Regions from separate parts of the Homo sapiens genome. Here all the other regions are linked to region 1. Evidence: promoter capture Hi-C in 16 types of primary human blood cells and fetal thymus (Javierre and others, 2016). All regions are on one chromosome and are shown on one strand. Each heading gives the region's core, a stretch centred on a gene start or on the middle of the fragment in contact. The rest is flanking DNA. Distances are from core to core; before and after follow the strand shown.

Region 1 (4,303 bases), core at 716-3,215:
TCAAAAAAAAAAAAAAACTTTCTTGAGGAAGTGGGAGGCTGAGGCAGGAGGATTGCTTGAGACCAGGAGTTTGAGACCATATGGGGCAACATGGCAAGACCCCGTTTCTACAAAAATTTTAAGTATTAGCCAGGTGTGGTGGTGCACACCTATAGTCCCAGCTATTTGGGAGGCTGAGGCAGGAGGATCTCTTGAGTCTAGAAGTTTGCGACCAGCCTGGGCAACATAGTGAGACCCCGTCCCAAAGGAAAAAGAAAATTGCAAAGTAGAGAAGACATTTGAAAGAATCAAACACGGCCAGGTGCTGTGGCTCATGCCTGTAATCCCAGTACTTTAGGAGGCTGAGATGGGTGGATCACCTTTGCTCAGGAGTCCAGACAAGCCTGGGGAACATGGCAAAATCCCGTCTCTATCAAAAATACAAAAAATTAGCCAGGCCAAGTGGCACGCGCCTGTGGTCCTGTACTTGGGAGGCTGAGATGGGAGGCTCTCTTGAGTCTGGGAGGTGGACATTACAATGAGCTGAGATCATGCCACTGCACTCTAACCTGGGTGATAGAGTGAGACTCCATCTCAAAAACAAATAAAATAAAAATTCAAGGCAGGAATAAAACAGTAACTACATAATGAGCTCACATTTTAATAAAAGAGATATAACAAATGAACAAAAGTCCATTAAAATGTTAGGGAAAAAACCCAATAGGATGAGTTACTAACTAGAAGGGGAGAAGGGATTTGGAGTGGTTAGGAGAGCCCTTTCTGAGAAGATAAGCTGAGACCTGTGCCAAGAGGGAGGCAGCCATGCAAATACTGAGAGGAAGGAAAAAAACGAAGGGCCAGTGCAGAGATCTAGAGAGGAAAAGAACTTGTCTTGCTGGAGAAGCAGTCAAGGTAGCCAAGGAGAGTACTGAGAAGAGTACGTTGGAGTGAGTAGGTAGGGACTCTATGGAGTAGGGCCTTAAAGGCGATGATTAGGCCAGGCGCGGTGGCTCACACCTGTAATCCCAGCACTTTGGGAGGCCGAGGCGGGTGGATCACGGTCAGGAGTTCAAGACCAACCTGGCCAAGATGGTGAAACCACGTCTCTACTAAAAATACAAAAAAAATAAGCCGGGCCTGGTGGCAGTCGCCTGTAATCCCAGCTACTCGGGAGGCTGAGGCAGAGAATTGCTTGAACACGGGAGGCGGAGGTTGCAGTGAGCCGAGATCGAGCCACTGCACTCCAGCCTAGGCAACACAGCGAGACTCCGTCTCAAAAAAAAAAAAACAAAACAAACAAACAAAAAAAAAAACAAAGGCAGTGATTAGCAGTTCGGGTTTTGTTTCCACTTACACTAGCGAGAGCATCAGTAATGAACAAGGGGAAGAGTGAAGCCACTGACTCGCGAGGTGACTGTGGGCAAGTTCCTGAATCTTGCTAACACTCTTTAACCCCCTGGAAAACTGTTCGCTAATCGTCACATTAAACGGCTGCGAACGGGCCACGGTCAAGGCTTCGGGGCTGCAGCCGCGAGTTTACCTGTCCTCCAGGACCGATTCCATGGGCTCCACCCCGTCTGTGTCCACGGCGCGTAGCCGGTCGGCGAAGGCGATAGCTTTCTCCAGTCGCGCCACTGCCTCGCGGCTGCCGAAGTCCACAAGCGCTAGACGCTCCAGGTGCTCGATCACCGCAGCCGTGATCCGGCCACTGCCCTGGAGGAGGGATGAGGCGGGGAGTGTGGGTCACCGGCGCTCCGAAGTGCCTCCCGGCTTGCTCCGCCACCCGCCTAGATGGCCCTGGCCTTTACCTGAGGATCCGCCTTGGAGGTGAAGCCCTGGCGCCCGCCCAGAGGGGCCCGAAGGCCCAGCCACACCAACCGCGACCACATTTCTTCCTTCCTTGGCCCCCGCAGTGCGCCCGCGCGTAACGCCGAGCGACGCGCCTGAGAGTGATGACATCAGAGTGCGCCGTCGTCGCCGCCGCCACCACTGTCGCCATGAACAGTGTGGGGGAGGCATGCACGGACATGAAGCGCGAGTACGACCAGTGCTTCAATCGCTGGTTCGCCGAGAAATTTCTCAAGGGGGACAGCTCCGGGGACCCGTGCACCGACCTCTTCAAGCGCTACCAGCAGTGTGTTCAGGTGAGCCCTCCCGCCTCTGTTCCCAGGCCCTGCATTCTCGGCGCTGTGTCCCACCACACTCATCGTATTTTACGGGGATTGGGACTGGACTGGAAGGGTGGAGAAAAGTCGCAGTGAGGCCAGTGGCAGGAGCTCGCTCCCCTACCATCACCACCGAGGCCACTTGGGTGTCTCTCCGAATGACAAATATTGGGGCAGTGCTTTTCAAGAAGCACAGTCACATCCTTTGGTTCATTTGGTGTTCACCCTAAACTCGCAAGGTGGGCATAGTTACTCATATTTTATACATAAAAAACTAACACCCAGAAATAGGAAGTGATTAATCCGAGTTCACTAGCATCAGGTTTCCTTGGTTCTTTCGCAGGTGGTGCACTTTTCCACTATTACTGCTGGGGTCTGGGCGGGATTATACTTCAGAATTCAGACTGGAGGGTCACATTTTTTTGTTGTTATAAACCCTTCGTTAGCCTGTTTCTCTCTCTTGACCAGTCCCCGCAACTGCAGCCAGGAAATGTTTATTCTGGCCCAATGGATGTGGAACTGCTTTGAATTGTTAAGAACAGCACCGGGCAAAGCACTTCCAATAAGTTAACCCAACACATCCTCACAGCAATTCCCCGAGGTAGTTGCTGTCTTCATCCCATTTACAGTTAGTCACATAGCCAGTAAGTCCTGGAACCCAGATTTGAACCTAAGTCTTTCACTAACACAAAGTGATGATTATTTTTCAAATTTCACTTAATTTTAACGGTTCCCTCACAACTCCTTTTCCAGTCTCCCTCAGGTCTTACACTTGATTTATTCATTATGGTACTTCTGGTTTTTATTTATTTTTGAGGCAGAGTCTCACTCTGTCTCCCAGCCTGGAGTGCAATGGCACAATCTCAGCTCACTGCAACCTCCGCCTCCCAGGTTCAAGCTATTCTCATGCCTCAGCCACCCGAGTAGCTGGGCTTACAGGCATGCGCCACCATGCCCAGCTAATTTTTGTATTTTTAGTATAAACAGGGTCTCGCCATGTTGGCCAGGTTGGTCTCTAACTTCTGGCCTCAAGTGATCCACCTGCCTTGGTCTCCCAAAATGCTGCGATTATAGGCGTGAGCCACCACACCTGACCGGTACTTGTTTTTTAAAAAGTATGTGGTTTGAATCATGGTTATAAGTCTTTATAATCAGCTTGATTTTACTTTTGTACTGTCATATTTTATTTACAAAGCTTGCAACTTAAGCTTCATGTAGGTCTTTATAATGTGTTTTCTCCTCCTACCAGAAAGCAATAAAGGAGAAAGAGATTCCTATTGAAGGACTGGAGTTCATGGGCCATGGCAAAGAAAAGCCTGAAAATTCTTCTTGACCTTGACAGTCACCTTGAAGGATTTCGCAAGTCCAGAAATTGAGGACTCTGGATTTTTGTCAACTAACTCTGTGAACATAGCCATCAGATTTGATGAGGAACTTAGGAGAGAGGAGTTTTATTTCCTCCTTCGATGTTTTCCTCTCAGTTGTAAAAGATGAACTCTTTGAGATGATTTCTCACCTGCTGTGGTATCTTGCAGGAACTGTGTGCTAAAATTGAACAATTTTTTTGAGATTATGGTTGCAATACTTGGCGTGGAATCAGCTTTACATAAATATACCTTGTATGCAAACGATGATAAACTAGTCAGGATGAGCAGAGCTGCCTGACCTCTTGATTTCTGCTGCAAAAGACATATACACTGTACTGGGGTCACTATTTATGAAAGCAATTGGTTAGGACCTCTTTTTTTCCTCTCAGGGAACTAATGCTCTGAAAAGGGATCTGGGCACAACAGTTTCAGTGAGTGCTTTTGAGCACACTTTTATTTTTATATAGTAACTAATGGTTAAGATTGATGGTGGCCTGGATTAGCAAAGAGGAAGACAGCTTTTAACACAGTTCCCTGCCTTCACAAGAGGTGTCAGATTAAGATGTGAAAGCTGCAAGAATGTTGCAGTGAACACCATTTCAGAGCTCTCAGTGTGCAGTTCAGGAATTAAGATACTTGGAATAGCTGTGGAGGAAGAACCTAAATTGCAAAGATCTGCTATTGCCAGCTCTCAACCCAAGTCAGTGAATTGTCAACCTGCATATCCTAAAAATGTCAAAATGCTGCATCTGGTTAAATGTCGGGGTAGGGGGGAAGCTGAAGGTGCTCGCT
Region 2 (4,509 bases), core at 1,008-3,507, 110 kb after region 1:
GGGTTTAGAGAAGGTATCTCTGAGAAGGGGACATTTAAATAAATCCAGCCATTCGAAATCTGGGGAAAGAGGCATCCAACCAGGGAACAGAAAGTGCAAAGTCTGGCTGGGTGTGGTGGCTCACATTCGTAATCCCAGATCTTTGGGAGGCCAAGGCAGGAGGATGGCTTGAGGACAAGAGTTTGAGACTAGCCTGGGCAATATAGTGAATCCCCATCTCTGCTACAACAACAAAAATGAGCAGAGTGTGTTTGCTTTCACCTGTAGTCCCAGATACTACCTGTAATCCCAGAGTCTCAGGAGGCTGAGGCAGGAGGATCACTTGAGCCTAGGGAGGTTGAGGCTGCAGTGAACTATGATCGCTGTCACTGCACTCCAGCCTGGGCAACAGAGCTGGACTCTGTCTCTAAAAAAATAAGAAGAAGAAAGTAGGTAGTTTACGAACAAAGCTCTTCTGGGAGAGAACTGGGGAGGGCTGCGTGTGCTCCGGGAGCCCCCATAACCTCCTGGCTGTGTTCCCAGCGCCCCAGCCTGCAGCTGACTGAGGACCACGAGTGAGCCAGCGAGGGGGCGGGAGACCTCAGCCGCAGCCGCCGCCCCCTCCCCTGCAGCGACTCGGACCCGCTACTGCCTGCCCCCAACTCCCCGGGCCCGGCCCCTGCCCTGCTGCCCCCAACAGCGTCTGGCTCCCCTACTAACGTCCCCCTCTTCGCCCTTGCCCCCATCCCCACCCGCCCCTCTCCCGGCCCTGCTTTTATTTATTTTGGATTAGCCGGTTGCCCACCCCAGCCCTCTGGTCCATCCCTCCCTCCGTGCCGCGCCCCCCTAGGACCGCCCCCTCCCCAAAAGGCTTTTGGATTTGTGCATAGCTGGAGTGAAGGCGGAGGGAGCCTGCTACAGGCCGCAGCCCAACCCCTGTTTTTTATTCAGATTTCCCCTCCTTTACCCTTTCCCTTTTTTTTTTTTTTTTTTTTTTTAAAGAAACCTTTTTTAAACTATTTCTAGGTTTGTGAATGTGAAGCCCCAGGCCGCAGGGGGCAAGGGGCCAGGTGCCCCCCACCAGCTGAGAACAAAGTGTCTATCTGGGTGTGGGCCCCTGGCCGCCTCCCTCCAGCCCTGGAGAGGAGGGCAGGGCTGCGGGGAGGCCAGGCCGAGCCCCTGGAACCATCCCGTCCTGTATCATATGTAAATACTGTGAGGTGATGTGCCCACCCCTCTCTAAGACCCCTCGGGGGTGAGGGGCTCCCCCCTCCCCTGTTTCTGTCCCCTCAGACACCGTTACTGTAAGCTTGCAGGCCTCAGCTGTGGCCACGGCAGGCCCGCTCTCTCAGGCCCTCAGGGTCAAGGCCTTGGTTGGACCTGCCCACTCCAAAAACCCAGTGTGGGGGCAAAGGGCGTGGGAAGAGCAGGGCTTGCCCAGCGACACTGCTGGACAGGAATTAACTCTCCAAAGGTCTCCCCTGCTCCCTACCTAGGTTGGGGCTTCATGGTTTCTGCTCAGTCTGTCCCCCTTCCCCCTCGACCCCCGCAATGAGTGGGCACCAGGGGACGCTCTGGCGAGGGCAGACCCCAGGGGAAAGCAAAGGGCGTCTCAGGGAACCCCCACATTCTCTCACTGAAGTTTCCCACCAGGATGACCCCACAGCCAGAGTCCCTTGGCAGCCCCTCACCCCAGACCCCCCTTCTAAGGAAAAAGAGAGGTTCAGAGCGTTGGACCTTCATGAACAGTGGCCTGGCTGGCGTGGCAGGGCCAAGGCCCACCCACTGCCATCCCCCTTCTGTGTGTCCCTCTCCCCCAGTTATGAGGCCCAGGGCCTGAGCTCTCTTCCCCAGCATTGCCCCCACCCGGAAACCCCACCTTTGGAGAGTTAATTGTCTGTGTGAGGTGCTTAACCTATCAGCCCTGAGAACACAAAGCAATAATCTTTGTTACTGAGATGCGCGGCTGTTCGTGTTTTGGGTTTTTTTTTTTTTTAATGTTTCCTAATAAAAGAGAAGCTGCATTTTATTGGTTTTTATTTTTAATTTTCTACACGTTTGAGCTGAGTCCTGAGACACTTAGCTTCCCTCTCCCTCATTCCCGGACCCTTCCACCCCACTGGGCCCAACCATGGGCTCAGGACCCTGGAATTCCGTTTTCTGATTTGCTTTGGGATTTTTTTTTTTTTTAAGATGTTACATGGTGTTTCGAAGCCAGCAAGTTACCATCCTCCGGTGTCTCTTCTCTCCACATCTGTAACTTCTTTTTCCAGGTTTTATTTTCAGTTTTAAATTCCTAATAAATTATTTGAAAACGTTGCTGGGCTTGTGAATGTCTTGTGTCTCTGTGCATTCAGGGATACCTCATTTTCCTGTTTTAGGGATGGCAGGACTCACCTCCATCCTCTTAGGGTCCTGGCAGGATCCAAGAATTAAATTGACACAAGATAGATGAACAGGGCCAGTCAGTCACAGTGGCTCATGCCTGTAATCCCAGCACTGTGGGAGGCAGAGGTGGGCAGATCAATTGAGGTCAGGAGTTCGAGACCAGGCTGGTCAACATGGCGAAACCCCATCTCTACTAAAAATACAAAAATTAGCCGAGTGTGGTGGTGGGTGCCTGTGGTCCCAGCTACTCAGGAGGCTGAGGCAGGAAAGTCTCTTGAACCCTGGAGCTGGAGGCTGCGGTGAGCTGAGATCATGCCACCGCACTCTAGCCTGGGTGAGAGTGAGACTCTGTCTCAAAAAAAAAAAAAAAAAAAGAATAGGAGAAAAGCGTACACATTTATTTATTAAAAGTTGTGCATGGCATGGGAGCCTCCATAAAGAAATGAAGGCAGAGTGTGGTTGCTCACACCTGTAATCCCAGTACTTGGGGAGGCTGAGGCAAAAGGAGTGCTTGAGGCCAGGGGTTCAAGACCAGCCTGGGCAACTTAGTGAGACCTTCATCTATATAAAATATTAAATTATTTAGGTATGGTGGCACAAGCCTGTGGTCCCAGCTACTCAGGGGACAGAGGTGGGAAGATTGCTTGAGCCCTGGGAGTTGGAGGCTGCAGTGAGCCATGTTCTTGACACTGCATTCCAGCCTGGAGGACAGAGCAAGATGCTCTCATTCTCAAAAAAAAAGAAGAGAGAGAGAGGGAGAAATGAAGACCTAAAGAAGCAGTTAGAGTTACTGATATACTGGATTGGACAAAGAATAGTAAATTATGAAAAAGCCACTCAATTATGTGGAGAAGCTTAAAAGATAACAGCTATTTTGGGCCAGGCATGGTGGCTCACGCCTATACTCCCAGCACTTTGGGAGGCCAAGGCGGGCGGATCGCCTGAGCTCAGGTGTTCGAAACCACCCTGTGCAACATGAAACCCCGTCTCTACTAAAATACAAAAAATTAGCTGGGTGTGGTGGCACGCACCTGTAGTCCCAGCTACTTGGGAGGCTGAGGCATAAGAATCGTTTGAGCCCAGGAGGCAGAGGTTGCAGTGAGCCAAGGTCGCGCCACTGCACTCCAGCCTGGGTGACGGAGTGAGACTGTCTCAAAGAAAAAAAAAAAAAGCTATTTTGGCTGGGCACGTTGGCTCACAACTGTAATCGAAACACTTTGGGAGGCTGAGGAAGGCGGATCCCTTGAGTCCAGCAGTTCGAGACTTGCCTGGGTGATATGGTAAAACCCCATCTCTACAAAAAAATACAAAAATTAGCCGGTTGTGTGGTGGTGCAGGCCTGTAGTCTCAGCTACTTGGGAGGCTGAGATGGGAGGATTTCTTGAGCCAGGGAGACAGAGGCTGCAGTGAGCTGAGATTGCACCACTGTACTCCAGCCTGGGTGACAGAGCAAGACCCTGTCTCAAAAAAAAAAAGAATTACTTTAACAAGGGCCTGCACAGAATCATCTCGGTGCCGACTTCCCGCCCTCGAAGATAAGGATGTTGCCTTTCCTTCCAGTACAGGTTGGGGGTCTTTCACTCAGGAATTTCATCATCTTCTGCTTTTAAGAAACAGCACAAAGGTGAGAGTGATCATCTTGTTCCTGCTGTTTTTCAAGTGCCTTTAACTTAAATAATCAGAGTGGATATTTTTAAATATTCTCTGCACTTTCTCCCTCCTGCTTTCCTCCTGGGAAGGTCTTTACTTTCCACTTGACCCAGAGCTTAGTGTTGACAATGAGATGCCACTTCACACTCATTGCTGGGATTACAGGCGTGCACCACCGCACCCAGCCCTTCAAACAGATATGTGTACGCCAGTGTTCACAGCAGCAATATTCATGATAGCCAAAAGGTAGAAACAACCCAAAAGTCCATCAATGGATAAATGGATACGTAAAATGTGATCTATCCATACAATGGACTATTTATTCAGCCTTAAAAAGGAAGGAAATTGGGCTGAATGTGGTGGCTCACACCTGTAATCCCCAGCACTTTGGGAGACCAAAGCAGGTGGATTACCTGAGGTCAGGAGTTTGAGACCAGCCTGGCCAACATGGTGAAACCCTGTCTCTACTAAAAATACAAAAATTAGCCAGAC
Region 3 (4,780 bases), core at 166-2,665, 120 kb before region 1:
GCTTACTGCTACGAAAGATCTCTTAAATCCAACTTCCTGCATTTCCTAGTCTATCAAAATTTCCATCTTATCAGACCCACCTGGCAGACTTGCTGTGTATAGCTGGTCCCTTTAATAAAGAGTCAGAGGTAAGGTCAGTGATCCAGAGAGCATGGGGAACGATGGCCCCCAGCATTCTTAGCGAAGCCCCAATTCCCATCTCTGGAACAGGTGTATATCACCCACTATTACCAAGGCTGAATTTCCTCTTAATCCTTACTATGTGCTAGGCACTTTGACCCATATTAACTCATTATATTTGCAAGCAAGCCTATTAAGGAGGTGCTCTCATGATTCACATTTAAAAGTTGAAGAAAACAAGTGGCTAAGGTCTGGCTCCCAGGTCCCAGACACAGAGTTCTATACAACGACGTACAGCAGTGCTAGTCAAAGATGAAAGTTCCTGAACTTACACTTGCCCTGTTTCTTGTTCTCCTCTATCTCAATCCTGCGCTCTCGGCGGCGTTCCTCCCGAGCCTTCTTTTGGCGCTGACGTTTCCTCTTCTCAATGTCATCTGCAGATTGGTCAGGTTGTAAAGAGGTAGACCCAGGACAACATGGTCATTACCTCCTCCCAGTATTAGCAGCTAAACCCACAACAGTAGGCCCAGCTGGACTAGATGAACAGATGAAGTGTTTAGGAGGTACTAAGACTCATGATACAGTTCCATAAGTTTCCTCCCCCACTGGGTGTCTAGCCACAAGAATCCCTGAACCCTACTATAAAGAGAAGCAGAGCAGGGGCATTCTCACCTGAGAACATCTCTAGGGTTTCCTTAGAGACCACAGGAGGTTGCAAAGCCAGTTCACAGATGCTGAACTCACAGGTGAGTGGCAAGTGAGAGAGATATCTGTGACGCTGTCGAACATCCTACATTGGAAAAAGGACCAATACTCAACAAAAGCAAGCCTAACTCTGAAAGCAGGGGGTCCTAACCCCGATATCCAACAATATATACATAACACAGCCAGCACTGGGGCTGGAAACAGTAGTGCTCAATTATCCTCATTTTGAAAAGCCAAAGAGAAACTGTCAACCTACAGCAAGGTGGAATAAGCAACCAAATCCAGTTATTTTTGGTTTGTACTGCAAAGGAGTGAACTGAGTCCAGCAACAAATAATCTAAAGCCCATCAGCTGTTTCTGATTTTTTCAAGGCCCCACAGCTGAGGGGGACGAACAGAGAAGATAAAGTTATTTGTTGGCAGAAAAACAGAACAGAAAAAAACCTGGGAACCACTGACAGAATAAATAACTGGGAAGGAAGATAAAGCAGATCTCCCTATTGAAAGACACTTGGCCTGAAATAGTAGAAAATGAAGCCCAATTTTTTTTTTCTGAGACATGGTCTTGCTCTGCCGCCCAGGCCAGCTCACTGCAGACTTGATCTCCCCAGCTCAGGTGATCCTTCTGCCTCAGCCTCCTGAGGAGCTGGGACAACAGGTGCACATCATCATACCCAGCTAATTTTTTTTTGTATTTTTTGTAGAAATGCCCTGGCTGGTCTGAAACTCCTAGCCTCAAGCAATCTGCCTGAGTAGGCCTCCCAAAAGTGCTGGGATTACAGGTGTGAGCTACCACATCCAGCCCATTTATTTTCATTTCTATTCTTTTTCTGCATATGTTTGATGAAAAATTTATAGTACTCAAAGAGTCTAATTTTAAATCTTACAACAAATTTGTGACATTTCTCCCAAGCAATAAGGAGGATAAGAAACAAAAATAAACTCCATCTTAAATAAAAGAAATATCTATATCCCCAAACTACAATCAATGAACCAGAGAAGCAGGGAACAGCATTAACTGATTTAACAGAACCCTGGCATGCTGAGGGGACACTTCACTTACAAAGAATTCACAGCACCATCACTGACAGAAAGACTAAAAATACAAAAACTAAAGGCCTTGAAGGTTTGTGAACTTAGGATGGCTAGGCCTACCTCAAAGAGATTAGGTTAATACTGCTGCCTGACCCTCCATTTCTACAGGAAGGCCTCACCTCAGACATGGAGTAGCCAGCAATCTCCACCACAGTTGCTGAGATCTTCTCGGGGCTCCTCTCCAGGCTGCCGTACTCCCGCACGAGGCAGCGCACATTCACAGGGTGCAGGAACATATGCTGTCCATCTTCCGCTGAGGACAAGGGGCTCTATCACACACCAGTCTTGGCCAGTCCCCAGGAGGCTCCCCACCCCTCCCCATGCCCAAGGGCTCAAGCCACCCAAGCCACAGGATCTAGTGGCGCTCCTCTGCTTAGAGCACCGGGTCACCTCTGAAACACCTCTGCGGCAACCCAGCCCTCTCTTCCGGCACCCTCACCTTGGTAAAAGTAGTAACAAGGAGAGCTGCTGAGGCGTGTGAAGCCTGACTTGGTGATGGGTTCCTGCTGGCTGGACTCAGTGCAAATGGTCCCCTCTTTAAGATTGTCATCTGCTAACTCCAAGTCATCACAGGCCTCTGGCAACCCCTCAGGCTCTGGTTCAGACACTGCTTCCTCCTCTTCTACCAGAGGGAGAGCAAGAGGTCTAGAAGGAGTGTCCAGAGAACAAACTTCCGTGGTTTCTTCATCGAAGGCAGACAGATACTCCAGCACACCCTGTTGCAGCAAACTCTAAGTCAACAGAAAGGATATCTCCTGCTTTCCGAAAGCAATGTGGCAAATGCAGACCTAAGAGCCAAGCTCCCTAGATGTTTATCTTAGCTGTCGTGTTCACTGATTTAACACCCCTGGGGAAAGAACTAATAACAAGCATACAGAAAATACTCATTGTCCCCTCTTCTCTTGAGAAGGTTTAGATCTCACAGTAATGCCTACCAGCTCAATGACAGCATTTGAGGAACGGCAGCCACTTAGTAACAGGAACACACTAACCTTCCTGGGTTGAAAAACAGACTCCTTCGCCAAGGGAGCCATCAGCACCAGTTGTTCCAGAGCAGCCACAACACCAGTGACCTCCCTTCTGCTTCCGGCCAATCCCGACAGAGCCTCTTCCCGAGTCTAACGTGGCCAGAGAGAACACCAGAGAAGGTTAAGTTTCCAGACACACACTTAGCTTGAAGGGCAAGGGCTTAGAATGGCCTCTCAACAGGACCAAAAGTTAAAAGGCAATGAGACCCAATGGGAAGGAATTAGGTGCTTAAATATCTCAACTTTGAGGGAAACAGGAAGCAAAAAGCATGCAATACCCACTAAGGATTGGAATCTGCTTAGAATCTGACACTGGGGAGTGTAAATTAGTTCAATCATTGTGGAAGACAGTGTGGTGATTCCTCAAAGACCTAAAGACAGAAATAAAATTTCACCCAGCAATCCCATTACTGGGTATATAGCCAAAGGAATATAAATCATTCTACTGTAAAGACACATACGGCCAGGTGTGGTGGCTCATGCCTGTAATCCCAGCACTTTGGGAGACTGAGGTGGGCGGATCACCTGAGGTTGGAAGTTCAAGACCACCCTGACCAACATGGAGAAACCCCATCTCTACTAAAAATACAAAATAACCCAGGCATGGTGGGGCATGCCTGTAATTCCTGCTACTCAGGAGGCTGAGGCAGGAGAATCACTTGAACCTTGGAGGCAGAGGTTGTGATGAGCCGAGATCACGCCACTGCACTCCAGCCTGGGCAACGAGAGCAAAACTCTGTCTCAAAAAAAAAAAAAAAAAAAAGAAAGAAAGAAAAAGAAAAACCAAATATCGCACACATGTTCTCACTTCTAAGTGGGAGCTAAATGATGAAACATGGACACATAGAGGGGAACACACACTGAGGCCTATCAGAGGGTGGAGAGTGGGAGGAGGGAGGGGATCAGGAAAAATAACCAATGGGTACTAAGCTTAATACCTGGGTGAAAATCTGTATAACAAACCCCCATGACACAGGTTTACCATGTAACAACCTGCATTTGTACCCCTGAACTTAAAAGTTAAAAAAAATAAAAGAGAATCTGACACAAACAACACTATACAAAAAACTTCCAGAACAGAAATCTAAGAACATGAAACTAACCTAGTTTTTACAAACTATGCTCAGACAGAGGTCCAGAGTAGTAGGAAGGATTTAGCTAACTCCACCTCAGCCTGGACAGCTCTAATTCTATGTAGCCTTTCTTATGCCTGTAATGGCATTTGAACAAATACGGCTGCAACGTATTATAGAAAGAAAGCAAAAGTTAAATACACAGGACTCTACCCAAGGAGCCCTTGGGAGTCAGGGAGAAGGGAATTCAAATACCAGCTGCATCCCTTACTAGCAAATTACCCAACCCAGGATTCAGTTTCCTCATCCATGAAAGGGGATAGTTCTATCTACCACACTAGAAGCTTAAGTGAGATAAATGTGTATAGCACAAGTCCTATCAAATGCTGATCACTCAATAAATATGGGCTTCTATTGCTCTAAGCTAGATCAGTGGTTCCAGGAGTGTGGTCTGGGGATGAGCAGCCATCAGAATCACCCTAGAACTTGTTATATGCAAATTACTGAGCCTACTGAGCTTAACCTATGCAATCAATATCTCAAAGTGGGACCTAACAACCAGTGGTTGTGATGCTTCAAGAATCTCTGTTGTGGAAGATAAAAGACCCAGGGAATTCTGTTCTTGTGTAATTCTTGCCGTTTCAGGTACTCCTAAGGCATACTGGGCAGGCCATAATACTTTCTCCACAATGTCTTTCAAAACACCTCTAGAATAGAATCTTAAGTATTTTCCCAGAAAACAAAGAACTCTAACTTGCTT
Region 4 (4,308 bases), core at 1,102-3,601, 120 kb after region 1:
AAGAAGAAGAAGAAGAAAAAGAAGAAGATATATATATATATACACACACACAAAGATATAAACTTTATATATATAAAGTTTTCATTAAAAAAAAAAAAAAACCTCTACCCACTTTCACTTTACCAGGTTCCTGGGTCCAACGGTCTTCAGAGGAGGCAGCTGGCAGGGGTCAGGGAGGCAGCGTGGGACCCGAGGGAGCAGGAAGGCAGTGTGTCCCCGGGGTGCTGGCAGACCGATTTGAACTCTGGCTATGTCTTCTTGCAGTGGCCGCCGCCGACAGCGGCATCAGCCCTCGGGCCGTGTGGCAGTTCCGCAAAATGATCAAGTGCGTGATCCCGGGGAGTGACCCCTTCTTGGAATACAACAACTACGGCTGCTACTGTGGCTTGGGGGGCTCAGGCACCCCCGTGGATGAACTGGACAAGTAAGTGATCCGCCTGCAGGAAAATTGGAGTGCCTGCCGGGGGCGGGGTGGGGCACACGCCAAGGATCTCACGAGGCATACAAAGGGGACTTGCATATCTGCTAAGGATAACATATTTTCACCTCTTGTCAAATAAACAAATATGTTCCAAGAGGACCCTGTAGCGAACGCACCCCGTTAGAGATGGAAACAATGACCGACGTGCAAAACAGTGGGCGATGCTGCCCTCCAGTGGCAGAATGTAGCAACAGTAAACATCACAGCAACTATCCACGTGTCATTTTCTAGCAGTGGTTGTCACTGCACCTTCTGAATACAGGATTTTACTGTATTCTTGCAACCATGTTAAAAATCGCTTTCAGGCCAGGCGCGGTGGCTCATGCCTGTAATCCCAGCACTTTGGGAGGCCGAGGCGGGCGGATCACTTGAGGTCAGGAGTTCGAGACCAGCCTGGCCAACATGGTGAAACCCTGTCTCTACTAAAAAATACAAAAATTAGCCGGACATGGTGGCGAGCGCCTGTAACCCCAGCTACTTGGGAGACTGAGTTGGAGGTTTCAGTGAGCCAAGGTCGTGTCACTGCTGTCCAGCCTGGGTAACAGAGCAACTCTGTCTCAAAAAAAAAAAATGCTTTCAATAAATATATGATAAAAGGACTTATATTTTTTCAAGCCATAGGATCATTTCTCCTGAAGCATCTTGGCGAAGTCATCCCCACCTGTTCCTGAGAGTGGGCAGGTGAGGGCTGACCTATTGCTCTGCACTTACTCCTATCTCAGCTGTCCCTCCCACTTTCCAGGTGCTGCCAGACACATGACAACTGCTATGACCAGGCCAAGAAGCTGGACAGCTGTAAATTTCTGCTGGACAACCCGTACACCCACACCTATTCATACTCGTGCTCTGGCTCGGCAATCACCTGTAGCAGTAGGTTTATCCCTTCCTTGACCTATGAATTCTAGTTGGTTCTCAGTAGGCCGGGGGGAAATAATAGTAACAACAGCCATGATTTAGTGTTAATTTTCTTGGTTCTGGGCAGTGTCTCCTTTAATCCTCAGAACAACACTATGGGATAGGTACAATTATCCTCACTTAACAGATAAGAAAACTGAGGCTCAGAAGGCTGAGCTATTTGCCCAAGATCACACAGCTTGTAAGTGGTGACAGTTTGGGTTTTTTTTTGTTGTTGTTTAGAGACAGGGTCTTGCTCTGTCACCCAGGCATGAGCACAGTGGTGCAACCATAGGTCACTGCAGCCTCAACCTCCTGAGCTCAAGGGATCTGCTGACCTCAGCCTCCCAAGTAGCTGGGACTACGAGCGTGCACCACCACGCCTGGCTAATTAAAAAAATTTTTTTGTAGAGACTGGGTCTTACTACGTTGGCCAGGCTTGTCTTAAACTCCTGGCTTCAAGCAATCCTCCTACCTTGGCATCCCAAAGTGCTGGGATTACAGGGGTGAGCCACCATGTGCGGCTACTTATTTCTTTACATTCCATCTTTCCAATAGAATGTAAGATCCACAGAACAGGGATTACTGCCTATTTTCTTCCTTTCTTTTTTGAGACAGAGTCTCACTTCATCACCTCAACCTCCGTTCAGCTCACTGCAACCTCTGCCTCCCGGGTTCAAGCGATTCTCCTGCCTAAGCCTCCTGAGTAGCTGGAATTACAAGCGTGCACCACCATGCTTGGCTAATTTTTTGTATTTTTAGCAGAGATGGGGTTTTACCATGTTGCCCAGGCTGGTCTCAAACTCCTGACCTCAAGTGATCTGCCTGCCTCAGTCTCCCAAAGTGCTGGAATTATAGGCGTGAGTCACTGTGCCTGGCCGATTACTGTCTATTTTCTTTATTGCTATATCCCCAGATCTAGAGCAGTGTCTGACATATAGTAGGTGCTCAATAAATAATTGATGAATGCACAGCCTAGATATAAACTTTCTTTTTCTTTTTTTAAAACAATCTTGACAACTTTGCAGAATAAATACAATCTTGCATTCTGCTTTTTCACTTATCACCTTGTTATGACTTTTTCATATTGCCTCAAACCTTTATTGTTACTGTTTTTTCATTGTTACTATTTTAGTCACTGAATAATATGGCTTAATTTGCTTATACATCCTCCTGCTCCACTTTAGAAGGCCAAATTTACAAATCTGATGAAAGCTATGAACCCTCTCCCCAGAGAAATACACACACACACACACACTCACACACAGTTTTTTTTTAATGTTTGCAACTAAGACAAGAAACCTGCATTAGAGGATGTTTGTTCATATTAATTAAAAATAACTCAGTTGGGCACAGTGACTCAAGCCTGTAACCACAGTACTTTGGAAGTCCAAGGTGGGTGGATCACTTGAGGTGAGAAGTTCGAGACCAGCCTGGTCAATATGGTGAAACCCTATCTCTACTAAAAATACAAAAATTAGCTGGGTGTAGTGATGCATGCCTGTAGTCCCAGCTACTCGGGAGGCTGAGGCAAGAGAATTGCTTGAACCTGGGAGGCAGAGGTTGCAGTGAGCCGAGATCCCACCACTGCACTCCAGCCTGGGCGACACAGCGAGACTCTATCTCAAAAAAATAAATAAATAAAATAAAGGATCGGAGAGAAACAAAACTAATAAGATTCCTGAAGGTAAGCAGAGATACGTAAATTATATGTAATAAAGTTTAAATGCATTTTAACTGTAATCTTATTGTTTATTTTGGTTATAAAAGTAAACAAGCCAAAAGTAATGCAACTTCAAACTCTACATAAATATCTATTATGGAAAGTGGAAGGCATCTATAATCCTACTACCCAAAGATAACCAGTTACATATTCCTCCAGATTTTTGGGGCATACACTAGCTTTTTTTATTTGGGAAAATTTCCATGTGCAGGCATACCTAATTTTTCTAAATGTCTATGTAGTATTCCATTTAAGGATGTTCCATAATTTTTAAAATACATGCTTTAAAGTAGAGAAACTAGGTTGGGCATGGTGGCTCACGCCTGTATCCCAGCACTTTGGGAGGCCGAGGCAAATGGATCACTTGAGGTCCGGAGTTTGAGACCAGCCTGGACAACATGATGAAACACCCTCTCTAATAAAAATACAAAAATTAGCTGGGCATGGTGGCGAGCACCTGTAGTCCCAGCTACTCAGGAGTCTGAGGCAGGAGTATCACTTGAACTCAGGAGGCAGAAGTTGCAGTGAGCTGAGATCACGCCACTGCACTCCAGCCTAGGCGACAAAAGGGAAACTCCGTCTTAAAAACAAAACAAAACAAAAAAACACAGGATGCCCAGATAAATATGACTTTCAGATAAGCAATGGATAATTTTTTGGGGGGTATATGTCCCAAATATTGCATTCATTGTTTATCTGAAAGTCAAATTTAACTGGGCATCCTGATGTACTTGTATTCACTTAATCTGTCAGCCCTAAATGTGCATCAGTGGAATGGCTGCCAGCTTATTCCAGTTAATTCTTCTTGCCCCAGATTGTACAAAACAGGGTCCACCTTGGCTCAGTCCTCTCCTTTCATCCCTCTCCAGGCAAAAACAAAGAGTGTGAGGCCTTCATTTGCAACTGCGACCGCAACGCTGCCATCTGCTTTTCAAAAGCTCCATATAACAAGGCACACAAGAACCTGGACACCAAGAAGTATTGTCAGAGTTGAATATCACCTCTCAAAAGCATCACCTCTATCTGCCTCATCTCACACTGTACTCTCCAATAAAGCACCTTGTTGAAAGACCTCATGTTTGGATATTGTTTTATTCTCTGTCTATAAACTAGGTCTCTGCCTACTCTTTTATTTTTATGTATTTATTTTTTCTAGGTGGAGTCTTGCTCTGTGGCCCAGGCTGGAGTGCAGTGATGCCACCTTGCCTCA

Evidence for each region. The method cuts DNA at HindIII sites, captures the fragments that hold promoters and counts their contacts. A CHiCAGO score of 5 or more calls a contact.
Region 2: a contact is called between a fragment that was not itself captured here and the fragment with the promoter of TRIAP1 in region 1, in 1 of 17 cell types (megakaryocytes). The highest score is 5.0, in megakaryocytes.
Region 3: a contact is called between a fragment that was not itself captured here and the fragment with the promoter of TRIAP1 in region 1, in 2 of 17 cell types (M0 macrophages and endothelial precursors). The highest score is 5.6, in M0 macrophages.
Region 4: a contact is called between a fragment that was not itself captured here and the fragment with the promoter of TRIAP1 in region 1, in 2 of 17 cell types (megakaryocytes and erythroblasts). The highest score is 6.1, in megakaryocytes.

Annotation. Positions count from the first base shown.
Region 1 is chr12:120,444,046-120,448,348 of GRCh38, reverse strand. TRIAP1 (TP53 regulated inhibitor of apoptosis 1) reads left to right here and starts at 1,965. Exons shown (of 2, transcript NM_016399.3): 1 at 1,965-2,123; 2 at 3,394-4,303. The coding sequence starts at 1,977. The coding sequence ends at 3,477. It overlaps GATC (glutamyl-tRNA amidotransferase subunit C), which reads right to left and starts at 1,905. Exons shown (of 4, transcript NM_176818.3): 1 at 1,788-1,905; 2 at 1,520-1,692. The coding sequence starts at 1,868. RefSeq lists enhancers at 1,090-1,935, 1,769-2,063, 1,661-2,210, 1,425-2,624, 1,936-2,783. The HindIII fragment of the contact is 13,544 bases long and covers 1-3,341 here.
Region 2 is chr12:120,339,119-120,343,627 of GRCh38, reverse strand. It overlaps MSI1 (musashi RNA binding protein 1), which reads left to right. Exons shown (of 15, transcript NM_002442.4): 15 at 523-2,298. Among named protein-coding and RNA genes, the nearest start is that of PLA2G1B, 14 kb to the right of the region's middle. The HindIII fragment of the contact is 1,933 bases long and covers 1,291-3,223 here.
Region 3 is chr12:120,561,202-120,565,981 of GRCh38, reverse strand. It overlaps RNF10 (ring finger protein 10), which reads right to left. Exons shown (of 17, transcript NM_014868.5): 8 at 2,912-3,037; 9 at 2,359-2,635; 10 at 2,039-2,172; 11 at 793-910; 12 at 453-554. Among named protein-coding and RNA genes, the nearest start is that of POP5, 18 kb to the left of the region's middle. The HindIII fragment of the contact is 4,928 bases long and covers 1-3,879 here.
Region 4 is chr12:120,321,977-120,326,284 of GRCh38, reverse strand. It overlaps PLA2G1B (phospholipase A2 group IB), which reads left to right. Exons shown (of 4, transcript NM_000928.3): 2 at 265-424; 3 at 1,224-1,351; 4 at 3,968-4,170. The coding sequence ends at 4,092. Among named protein-coding and RNA genes, the nearest start is that of PLA2G1B, 3.6 kb to the left of the region's middle. RefSeq lists an enhancer at 550-609. The HindIII fragment of the contact is 7,122 bases long and covers 1-4,308 here.